Linked DNA regions of Homo sapiens: all the other regions are linked to region 4. Evidence: promoter capture Hi-C in 16 types of primary human blood cells and fetal thymus (Javierre and others, 2016). All regions are on one chromosome and are shown on one strand. Each heading gives the region's core, a stretch centred on a gene start or on the middle of the fragment in contact. The rest is flanking DNA. Distances are from core to core; before and after follow the strand shown.

Region 1 (2,700 bases), core at 150-2,649, 1.6 Mb after region 4:
AAATATCTAGACTCCTATCCTGAATTCCGGTCTCAGATAAAAAGGTCAGAGACAATTACAAGGAAGATGCTTCATATTATCAGGTCCATTTTTTAAATGATGGGGTCCTTTAGGAAAATTTCTTTAGTCTTTCTTTTTATCACAGATTTCTGTTGGTCCTTTTGTTGGTAATCCATTCATGTCTGCACCCTAAAATGAAAAAACATTTTAGAAATTATCATAACAAGCCGGGTGCGGTGGCTTATGCCTGTAATCCCAGCACTTTGGGAGGCTGAGGCAGGCAGATCACGAGGTCAGAAGATCGAGACCATCCTGGCTGACATGGTGAAACCCCGTCCCTACTAAAAATACAAAAATTAGCTGGGTATGGTAGCATGTGCCTATAATCCCAGCTACTCAGGAGGCTGAGGCAGGAGAATCGTTTGAACCTGGGAGACGGAAGTTGTGGTGAGCCAAGATTATGCCACTGCACTCTAGCCTGGTGACAAAGCGAGACTTCATCACAAAAACAAAAACAAAAAAAAAAAAAGAAAGAAATTATTACAACAAAAAGATATTAAGAGACATTCTGTCTCTCTCTTTTTTTTTTTTTTTGAGATGGAGTTTCATTCTTGTCACCCAGGCTGGAGTGCAATGATGTGATCTCGGCTCACTGAAACCTCTGCCACCCAGGTTCAAGCAATTCTCCCACCTCAGCCTCCTGAGTAGCTGAGATTACAGGTGCCCACCACCGCGCCTCACTAATTTTGGTATTTTTAGTAGAAACAGGATTTCACCATGTTGGTCAGGCTGGTCTCAAACTCCTGACCTCAGGTGATCAACCCATCTTGACCTCCCCAAGTGCTGGGATTACAGGCGTGAGCTACCGCGCCCAGCTCAAGAAACATTCTCTTTAAAAACAGACAAGCTCCAGAGTGAAAACATTTTGCTTCCAGAAACGGGCCGGATGGCTAAATTAGTGCAGCTGAGTACAAAGCTGAATCTAAAAAAGCACCAATTCTAAAGACAACAGAGTTGTCCACTCATTTTTAAAAAAATTGTTTTTTTTTTAAATCTCTATGATCCTTCTAATTAAATCTCTTATCAAAGTCATCAATCAGTGAAACTGGTTTGTATCAGCATAATCTCTCCTCATCCATTAGCTATTTACCATTGCACTTACCAGTCAGAAAATATGGTTATCATTTTGGCCAAAGGACAAATGCATTAATCAGAGGCCTACTTTAAAACTTTAATTTAAGCCAAATGTTACACAAACTATTGAAGCTTCTGGTTCTAAAACTTGTCCTTCCAAAATCTAGTGTTTCACCCAAGTACCACCCCCTTTCACTGCTCTTATTCAAGGCATGTGAATGTTCTTACCTTAAAGTTTACTTTGCCTTTGTTTGTATCATTGGATTCTTGTATTGCTTTCTTAGGCCATATACGACTAACGAAGGGGGAAACCAGAGGGTATATATATGGCTCCAGGAATTTTTTGTAGATCCAGAGCAGAACTGGAATGACGATACAAGGAATGCACACCATTTTCCCAAGCTTGAGCTCCTCAACTGTTGATATATGTGAAGAAAAAAATTAGTTCATCACAGATTAGTAACTGAAAGAATTTACCAAGATTAAGATATCTGAAAGGGGATAGATGTGGTGGCTCACGCCTGTAATCCCAGCACTTTGGGAGGCAAGAGGATAGCTTGAGCCCAGGAGTTTGAAACCAACTTGCACAACAAAGTGAGACCTTGTCTCTACAAGATCAAAAAATTAGCTGGGCATGGTGGCATACTCCTGTGGTCCCAGCTACATAAGTGGCTGGGACAAGAGGATCACTAGAGCCCAGGAGGTTGAGGCTGCAGTGAGCCGTGTTCATGCCACTGCTCTCCAGCCTGGATGACACAGAGACACTTTGTCTCAAAAAAAGAAAAAAAAAAAATATATATATATATATATATACACACACACACACACACACACACACACACACACGAAAGGACTATTTCTACAGTGTAGGAAAAACTTAAAACATACTATTATATTTGCTAAAAAAAAAAGACTTTATTAAATAAAAAGCTGCTATCTACAAGGTAAAGAAATAGGCCAGGTGCAGTGGCTCATGGCTGTAATCCCAGCACTTTGGGAGGCCAAGGCGGGTGGATCATGAGGTGAGGAGTTCGAGACCAGCCTGGCCAACATGGTGAAACCCTGTCTCTACTAAAAATACAAAAATCAGCGGGGTGTTGTGGCATGCGCCTGTAATCCCAGCTACTCGGAAGGCTGAGGCAGAATTGCTTGAACCCAGGAGGCAGAGGCTGCAGTGAGCCGAGATCCCACCACTGCACTCCAGCCTAGGTGACAGAGCAAGACTCCATCTCAAAATAAAGAAATAATAGGTGGTAGGCATGAATAATAATGAGGTGCCTGCTTCCAAACTTCCAGTCACTGCTCCTTAATCATGAATTTGATTATAAAGGAAAAACAACAACATTTGGTAGGTGCTAGACAGTTTACATATAACAACTCATTTAATCCTCAATCAGTGAGGTTGGGTACCCTTGCTACTATGTCTATTTAGAGTTTAAAAAATGAGCCGGGTGTGGTGGCTCACACCTGTAATCCCAGCACTTTGGGAGGCCAAGGCGGGCAGATCACCTGAGGTCAGGAGTTCGAGACCAGCCTAACCAACATGGTGAAACCCCGTCTCTACTA
Region 2 (2,700 bases), core at 170-2,669, 1.8 Mb before region 4:
TAATAAATAAGCTTGGCTTGCTAGTAAGTTTCCTTTGAAAAGAAAATCATTTTAGGCTGGGTGTGTTGGCTCACACCTGTAATCCTAGCTCTTTGAGAGGCCGAGGCAGGCAGATCACTTGAGGTCAGGAGTTTGAGACCAGCCTGATCAACGTGGTGAAACCCCCCGTTCTACTAAAAATAAAAAAATTATCCCTGCATGCTAGCACAAGCCTGTAATCCCAGCTACTAGAGAGGATGAGACAGGAGAATTGCTTGAGCCTGGGGACGGGGGTTGGAGGTCGCAGTGAGCCAAGATCATGTCACTCTGCACTCCAGCCTAAGCGACAGAGAAACACTCCATCTCAAAAAGAAAAGAAAAGGTCGGGCGCAGTGCCTGTAATCCCAGCACTTTGGGAGGCCAAGGCGGGCGGATCACCTGAAGTCAGGAGTTCGAGACCAAGCTGGCCAACCTGATGAGATCCCATCTTTACTAAGATACAAAAAATTAGCTGGGCGTGGTGATGCACACCTGTAATCCCAGCTACTCGGAAGGCTGAGGCAGGAGAATCGCTTGAACCCGGGAAGCAGAGGTGGCAGTGAGCTGAGAGCCGAGAGCCGAGATCGTGCCACTGCCCTCCAGCCTGAACAACAGAGACTCCATCTCAAAAAAAAAAAAAAAAAAAAAAAAGCTGGGCGCGCTGGCTCACGCCTGTAATCCCAGCACTTTGGGAGGCCGAGGTGGGCGGATCATGAGGTTAGGAGTTCGAGACCAGCCTGGCCAATATGGTGAAACCCCGTCTCTACTAAAAACACAAAAATTAGCCAGGCGTGGTGGCGCTTGCCCGTAGTCCCAGCTACTTGGGAGGCTGAGACAGAAGAATCGCTTGAACCCAGGAGGCAGAGGTTGCAGTGAGCCGAGATCATGCCACTGCACTCCAGCCTGGGCGACAAAGCGAGACTCTGTCTCAAAAAAAAAAAATGTCCCTAGTTTTTAGGTTGGGGGAACTAACGGATCAAGTTAAGATTGCCTCAGCTCATATTGCCAGGGTAGAATATAAATTCTGAGTGGATGCAATCAATGTGGAAGAAACACAAACATCTTGCTAAGCAAGAACCAAACGTTTCAAGTACTTTTTTTTAACGACAAGTGATTCAAACAAGAAATAAAAATAAAAGAAAGAAAAAACAACCTGGTTCTAGGCGGCTCTATCTCTCGTAGTGTTGATTATACCGCGGAAGGCGGGAAGAGCTGGGAAGTGGCAACGAAGCGAGGCTTGCAATGCCAGAGCCTTCGACCAGCCTTGCACAGGGGCTCAACGGCCAGGAGTCTCAGGTAAAACCACAACTCCCAGAAATCCCGGGCCCGGCGAGGGGCGGGTGCCAACGGCGTGTGGGCGGGGCCTAGGGAGTGAGCGGGGCGCATCTCCCGCTAGGAGTTCCTAGTAAAGTGGCGGGAGCCGCAGCTATGGAGCCGCAGGAGGAGAGAGAAACGCAGGTGATGGGGCGGGAATGGGGATCGTTGGCCTCCTGGAAAACGCGTTTTTGACACCCCCGCGCCGACAGCGGGTCTCCTGTGCGCGCCACGTCTACTTTTCTCTCCCCTATTCCACACATCCGTCTTTTAGTGCCGCCGTCACTATCTGCAAGCCCCCCGTGCTTAGACTCTCCTGAAGGCCTTTCCCTTCCTGCCCGGGCCTCCCCTTGTTTGGATCTGGCCCGGGAGAGGCGTTGAGCAGCCCGTGTCCACAGACTCTGGAGTGGGACTTATGAAGCCAAACCCGCCTTCCGGTTCGCTGCTCAGCCCGGCGGCTTCCACATCTGAACTGCTTCCGCGCCCTGCATCCCAACACTGGGAGCCTCCCGGCGCGGCGGGGCTTCTGGTGATCGAGGGACAATTGCTTTTTTCAGACCATGCACGGTCTAATAATGCGTTCGCATTATTATGGTCTATTAAGCTTTAAGGTTTTTCAAGCGAGGCAAATTGTTAGCCTGTACCGCTTTTGCAGATTTGGAAAAGAACGGATTGTTCTCTGGTAATTTTCAGTATTGTACGTTTCTTTGTGTACTTGCTCACTTTTTATTTCCTGATATCTAGTATCTCCCTAAAGACAAGTGAGGTTGTGAAGTAGGACTCCAAAATAGTCACAGAAAGCATTTAGTTTGCTTTTGATCACTTCTTTGTCATATTCTCATCGAGCCATTACAGTAAACAAGGCTTATAATATTTGTCTTTCTTTTAATGGTTAGGTTGCTGCGTGGTTAAAAAAAATATTTGGAGATCATCCTATTCCACAGTATGAGGTGAACCCACGGACCACAGAGATTTTACATCACCTTTCAGAACGCAACAGGGTCCGGGACAGGGATGTCTACCTGGTAATAGAGGACTTGAAGCAGAAAGCAAGTGAATACGAGTCAGAAGGTGAGATTAAGTCCAGAGTTTTGAACGAGAATAAATAGAGGTAACCAAATTTTATAACACTAAAGTATACAGGATTAATTTACTGTAGACTACTTGTTTTGCTCCTTTATTTTTCCCAGATTTTCTTCCACTCTGTTATAGTAGTAACTTTATTGTTTTATGTTTATATATATGTATATGTATGTGTGTGTGTGTGTGTGTGTGTGTGTGTGTGTGTGTGTGTGTATATATTTTAGACAATCTTGCTCTGTCGCCCAGGCTGGAGTGCAGTGGTGTGATCTCAGCTCACTGCAACCT
Region 3 (2,700 bases), core at 1-2,500, 1.6 Mb after region 4:
GTAGAGAAAAGAGAATTCTTATGCACTGCTGCTGGGAATGTAAACTAGTATGGCCACTATGGAGAACTGTATGGAGGATCCTTAAAAAACTACAAATAGAACTATCATATGATCCAGCAATTCCACTACTGGGCATTTACCCAAAGGAAAGGAGATCAGTATATTGAAGAAACCTCTGCATCCTCATGTTTATTGCAGCAATATTTGCACTAGCCAAGATATGGAAATGACATAGGTGTTTAACAACAGATGAATGTATAAAGAAATCGTGATATAAATACAAAATGGAATACTATTCGGCCATAAAAGTGAATGAAATTCTGTCATTTGCGGCAACATGGCTGGAACTGGAGGACATTATGTTAAGTGAAATAAGCCAGATGCCAGGCGCGGTGGCTCACGCCTGTAATCCCAGCACTTTGGGAGGCTGAGGTGGGCAGATCACCTGAGGTCAGGAGTTCAAGACCAGCCTGGCCAACATGTTGAAACCCCATCTCTACTAAAAATACAAAAAGTAGCTGGTCATGATGGCGGTCGCCTGTAATCCCAGCTACTCAGGAGGCTGAGGCAGGAGAATTGCTTGAATCCAGGAGTGAGAGGTTGCGGTGGGCTGAGATCGCACCATTGCACTCCAGCCTGGGTGACGAGCAAAACTCCATCTCCAAAAAAAAAAAAAAAACAAAAAAAAACCAACCAGAACAGCAGGTTAAATCCTGCACATTCTCATTCATGTGTGGAAGCTAAAAAGTTTATCTCATAGAAGTAAAAAGTAGAACAGAGGATACTAGAAGCTGGAAGGGTAGGGAAAGGGATAGGGAGAGATTTGCTAAAGGATACAAAATTACAGCTAGATAAGAGGAATAAGGTTTAATGTTCTCTACCACTGTAGGATGACTATAGTTAACAATAATATATAGTTTCAAATAGCTAGAGGGAGGATATTGAATGTTCCCAACACAAAGAAATGATAAATGTTTGAGATCATGGGTATGTGAATTACCTTGATCTATCCGATCACTATACATGATGTGTATCAAAACATCATTATGTACCCCATAAATATGTATAATTATTATGTGTTAATTAAAAAAATTTTTAAAATAGTCAAATTAATCACACACACAAGGGAAAATTCTACAGACAAAAATCTCCAAAGTCCAGGGCTGTCTCTTGCTTGCAATGGAGAATCTGACACTAGTTGTTTCCTCCATGATCCCTGCTCCCGATGGTGGTCTTCTTCTATGATTTCAGGTCTCACCGGGCTCTAGTAGCTCCATCTTCTCCTTTCCTCCTCTATCCAAGGGAAGGTGACCAGTCTTTGTTTGTTTGCTCCCTTAACTCTATCTATGCCTCTACTGGGAGTCCCTTCATTAGGGTTTTTTTCACTTGAGCTACACTTGGCGAATTCTGTTTCCAGCTGGGACCCTGGGTGATGGACAGAGTCAGGAGTAACCACCATGCCCTGGCAATAAATGATGGTTCAGCTGCGTGAGCATTGTCTATATGTGCAGTCAGCCGCTTCCCCGTCCTCCTCTTCACCATGTTCCATTTCTTTTCAACGTGCTAACTCCTTTGTACTAACAATTATTAAAGAGTTGATTTGCTCTACATACCCAGTGACAAATACTCTTCTAAAAACTTGAAGGGGACAATGAGACTGGGATTAACATACCTATGTAGAGTCGGCAATGCAGTTAGATACGATTCGTGCCTGGATATCTGACTTCATTTCTAAAATTCCACCAGTGACTAATTATGTTAGAGTTGCCTCCTTCCATCTTTCCTCTTGTAAAATTCATCTATTTCTGGAATGAATATTAATATTTATTGAATGCTTTTTTTTTTTTTTGAGACAGAGTCTCACTCTATCTCCCAGTCTGGAGTGCAGTGGCATGATCTCGGCTCACTGCAAACTTCGCCTCCCAGGCTCAAGAGATTCAAGTGCCTCAGCCTCCCAAGTAGCTGGAATTACAAGTGCACGCCAGCATGCCCGGCTAATTTTTGTATTTTTTTTTTTTAAGTAGAAACAGGGTTTCGCCATGTTGGCCAGACTGGTTTCGAACTCCTGACTTCAAGTGATTCGCCCTCCTTGGCCTCCCAAAGTGCTGGGATTACAGGCATGAGCCACTGCACCCGGCCTGAATGCTTATTTTATGTGAGTTACTTCGCATTTGTTAAATCAAATAATCTTTACAACGCAATTTTTGTGTTACGAGAAAGGTTAACTAACCCAGTAAATGGCAGACCTGGAGCAGGACGGAACCCCAGGCCTCCTGGCATGAATCCTTTGTGTTCCTGGGGAGAGGAATACATTCAGTCTCACGCTTCTTAGTGTCAATGAATATTTTAGGTAATGGAAAGTAATTCTGGAGCCCAGAGAGAAGATAGGATGGAACGATGATAAAGGGGAAGACACGAAAATACAGCTAATTATTTAGTGAGCATCTACTTGCATGTTGAGCACTGGGTATGGTTCCTCCCACATATTTCCCAGAATCACTTTGTAAGGAGGATTGTACGACCCACGTTTTACAGAGGATGAACTTGGGGCTCAGGGAAGTTTGGTAGTTTGCCCAAGGCCCTACAGGCAGTAAGTGGTTGGGGATGCATTATGCATAGAGCTAGGTGAGCCTGACACTGTTTGCTTTCTTTCCATTACACCTGCCTGTCATGGGAGAGAATTTCAGAAAAGGGATACCA
Region 4 (2,765 bases), core at 261-2,760:
CTCCCATCTCTGCTTCATCTGCTTCACTAATTCATGTATTAAAACTGTTGAAACTCCATTTAACTATTTGACTAACTTCTCTGTAAGATGGAAACTTTTTAAAGGGTGTTAAAGTAGAATAGCAAATTTTCAGCATAATAAGAGCAAATTTATTACTAGGCTCAAGGAAAACATCCTATCAGCGATTCATTCATACGAAACTATCAGGTTCAATTCATATGAAGTCAGAAGAGAGAAAAAGAATTTTGGAAATTAAATCACATTTCAAAGACCATTTCTAAAAAGATGTAATTATTCCAAGTTATTTATTTATTAACAATTATTTTACACATGTCGTTTTAAAAGTTTCACAAACCCAAATTTAAGATAGTCCAAATTGCAACAAACAAGACATGACTTTGATGGAAAATGCTGCTTGCAAATTCGTTTTACCTGGAAATTTCTTTTTTAAAGGTATGGTTGACAACACACTGGTGGTATTTTGCTTTTAAAGGGTCAAGAGAAAGGAATAACAAAACCAACCCAGGCATTCTTTTTCTGTTTAGGATCAAAAGGACATTTTAAGGATAAGTAAAAGACAAAAGTACCTGACCCAAAGACAATATCCCCCTCCAAGAGAACAAAGTAAGTTGCAATTTTAAAAACCAAGTTTGAAATACGAGAAATCACTTCGAGGGCTTTCCAAAGGCGTGTGATAAAAACTAATAGGCTCCACCCGCAGAACAACTTTCACAAGTGAGTGAAGGATGATCACAGAGTTATCAGCTGTGTGCGTGTTTGTGAGTACACACAAGCCATGGAAAACCCGAGACTACCACTGTTAACAAAGGTTACGAGACCAAAAAAAAAAAGTGGAGGCAAAGTATTACGCGTCCCTAACAAGGCTTCCCCACAACTCCTGAAACAAGAGCTCTGGCCCTTCGGCTTTAAAAATCAGAACCACAAACTATGGAGTGTGAGAGCAGCGAGGGGAAGGGACGCAGGCAGCCCCCGCCCCCGTCAGCCTGGGCGGCAGCGCAGTGCAACCGAGCCCCGTCCCTTCCCGGCTCTCCGGCCCCGAACCCGCACGCCCGGGCCGGCGCACCCACAGCCCCCGAACTCACCACACCCCAGCCCCCACCCGCAGCGGCCATGTGACACGGCCCATCGCCCCGGCCGCGGACGCACGCAAACACTTCCCTAGCTGGAGGCCCGCGGGCGCCCAGGCTTTACCTGCAAGGTGGCGCCAGGTCCCGCCCCGTCAGATCCGGGGGGTCCGGGACCTTTTGTTCCTTCCTCTTCCGATGGGATGGAGGGGGCTGGGAGGGGAAGAGGGGAATGGGCGATTGGAGGCGGAACTGAAAACACTCCCGGCCGCCGTCTTCCCGCCCCGCCCCCAGGCCCGGGCCCGGCCGGCGGCCCGGGCGCGCGGGAGGGTAGGGGAAGAGAGGGGAGGGGAGGGGAGGAGAGGGAAGGGGAGGGGAGGGAGCCTGGCCGCCGCCCGCGGGGAAGGAGGGGGTGAGGACGCGCGCGCCCGCGCTGCCCCTCCTCCCCTCAGGCGCGCGCCCGCAGCCCTACCGGCCGCCCGCACGGCCGCGCCCTCCCCCGCCAGCCCACCTCCGCTTCCGCCCTCCGCCCTCGGCCGCCGGCCGCCGCGGCGCCACGCACCCACCTCCCGGCGGCTGGCGGGCTGCTGGCTGGCGAGCTGCTTCTCCGCCGCCGCGGCCGCGCGGGTAGACCCGCCTGCCACCCTGGGCCGCGGGCCCCGCCGATTCGCCGGCGCAGCCCCGGGGCTGGCACCCTGCCGCCCGCTGATTGGCGCCTCCAGCCGCCCGTTAGGGCGCGAGGCACGCCGGCCGAAAGCCGCGCGGGGCGGGTATGGAAGACGGAGGGAGCGGAGGAGGAAAGGAACGAGGCCGAGCACCGCGGGAAGGGCCGGGGGGCGAGCGGGGCGCGGGGAGTCGCCGGCCACCGCCTCCCCACCTCCCTTTGCCTACGGCCCGCCCCGCCTCCCGGCCGGACCGGCGGCGCCCGCAGCCAATCAGCACGAGGGAAGCTCGGGGTGTGAGCCGCGCATCGGGGGCCTCGAATCGGAAGGGAGACGTCGCTCGCTGATTGGTCCCGCCTCCCCAGTCTAGCGTGAGGCGAGGCGGGGCGCGGCCGGGCGGGGCGGGACGCCCGCGGTTTCGCTTGAGTTGGGCGCCGGCGCGCTCCCACCGGGGCTCACGGGCGGAGAGGGAGAGGCCCGCGCCTTGCCGCGCATTAAGACGATTCCCGGTGACCGCCCGATCCCTCGCCAGCGTCGTGGGTGGGGCCTGTAGGGGCCTGCCGCCTCGTCCACCGTCCGTCGTGAGGCCGGCAGCGGACACGTGCTCATCCCACGGGGAGGCCCCGCGCAGCGCGGAGGACGCGCCTGAGAGAGAAAAGGGGTTCGGGAGAAGCCCGAGGACCCGGCCCGTGACTGGGCGCGCCCTATGCAAATGAGCGGGCGGGGCCCTCGTGTTGCTGAACGAGGGCGGGTTCGCGATGTAAATAAGCCCAGAGGTGGGGTCTTTGGAGAGCACTTAGGGCCCGGGTAGGGGATGCCAGGTATAAGTGTTTAACCTAAATTTTGGTTCCGTCTTCAGTAAAAATGATATCAATAATCCATGTCCCGAAGGGTCTTTGTGAAGTCTAAAAGAAACATCTGTCACGATGTCCCTTAATGGCTGGGATATCTTCCCTTCCCCTTTTCTCCACTGTTGCGACGATTAGGCCCCAACTTGCACATCTGCCCTACAGGAGGC

Evidence for each region. The method cuts DNA at HindIII sites, captures the fragments that hold promoters and counts their contacts. A CHiCAGO score of 5 or more calls a contact.
Region 1: a fragment that was not itself captured here is called in contact with the fragment with the promoter of SMAD2 in region 4 in 1 of 17 cell types (fetal thymus); the score reaches 5.2 in fetal thymus.
Region 2: a contact is called between the fragment with the promoter of HAUS1 here and the fragment with the promoter of SMAD2 in region 4, in 4 of 17 cell types (total CD4 T cells, naive CD4 T cells, naive B cells and 1 more). The highest score is 6.5, in total CD4 T cells.
Region 3: a contact is called between a fragment that was not itself captured here and the fragment with the promoter of SMAD2 in region 4, in 1 of 17 cell types (neutrophils). The highest score is 5.3, in neutrophils.

What each region holds. Positions count from the first base shown.
Region 1 is chr18:49,482,222-49,484,921 of GRCh38, forward strand. C18orf32 (chromosome 18 open reading frame 32) reads right to left here. Exons shown (of 3, transcript NM_001035005.4): 2 at 1,363-1,550; 3 at 1-189. The coding sequence starts at 1,527. The coding sequence ends at 124. It overlaps RPL17-C18orf32 (RPL17-C18orf32 readthrough), which reads right to left. Exons shown (of 7, transcript NM_001199356.2): 6 at 1,363-1,550; 7 at 1-189. The coding sequence ends at 1,371. Among named protein-coding and RNA genes, the nearest start is that of C18orf32, 3.7 kb to the right of the region's middle. The HindIII fragment of the contact is 270 bases long and covers 1,265-1,534 here.
Region 2 is chr18:46,102,966-46,105,665 of GRCh38, forward strand. It overlaps HAUS1 (HAUS augmin like complex subunit 1), which reads left to right and starts at 1,420. Exons shown (of 9, transcript NM_138443.4): 1 at 1,420-1,476; 2 at 2,229-2,403. The coding sequence starts at 1,447. It also overlaps a transcript of ATP5F1A not described here. RefSeq lists a silencer at 1,245-1,344 and an enhancer at 1,735-1,824. The HindIII fragment of the contact is 1,925 bases long and covers 10-1,934 here.
Region 3 is chr18:49,508,006-49,510,705 of GRCh38, forward strand. All of the region lies in intron 2 of LINC02837 (long intergenic non-protein coding RNA 2837), which reads left to right. Among named protein-coding and RNA genes, the nearest start is that of LINC02837, 10 kb to the left of the region's middle. The HindIII fragment of the contact is 3,198 bases long and covers 1-2,700 here.
Region 4 is chr18:47,929,149-47,931,913 of GRCh38, forward strand. SMAD2 (SMAD family member 2) reads right to left here and starts at 1,511. Exons shown (of 11, transcript NM_005901.6): 1 at 1,213-1,511. RefSeq lists silencers at 940-1,469, 1,500-2,429. The HindIII fragment of the contact is 8,478 bases long and covers 1-2,765 here.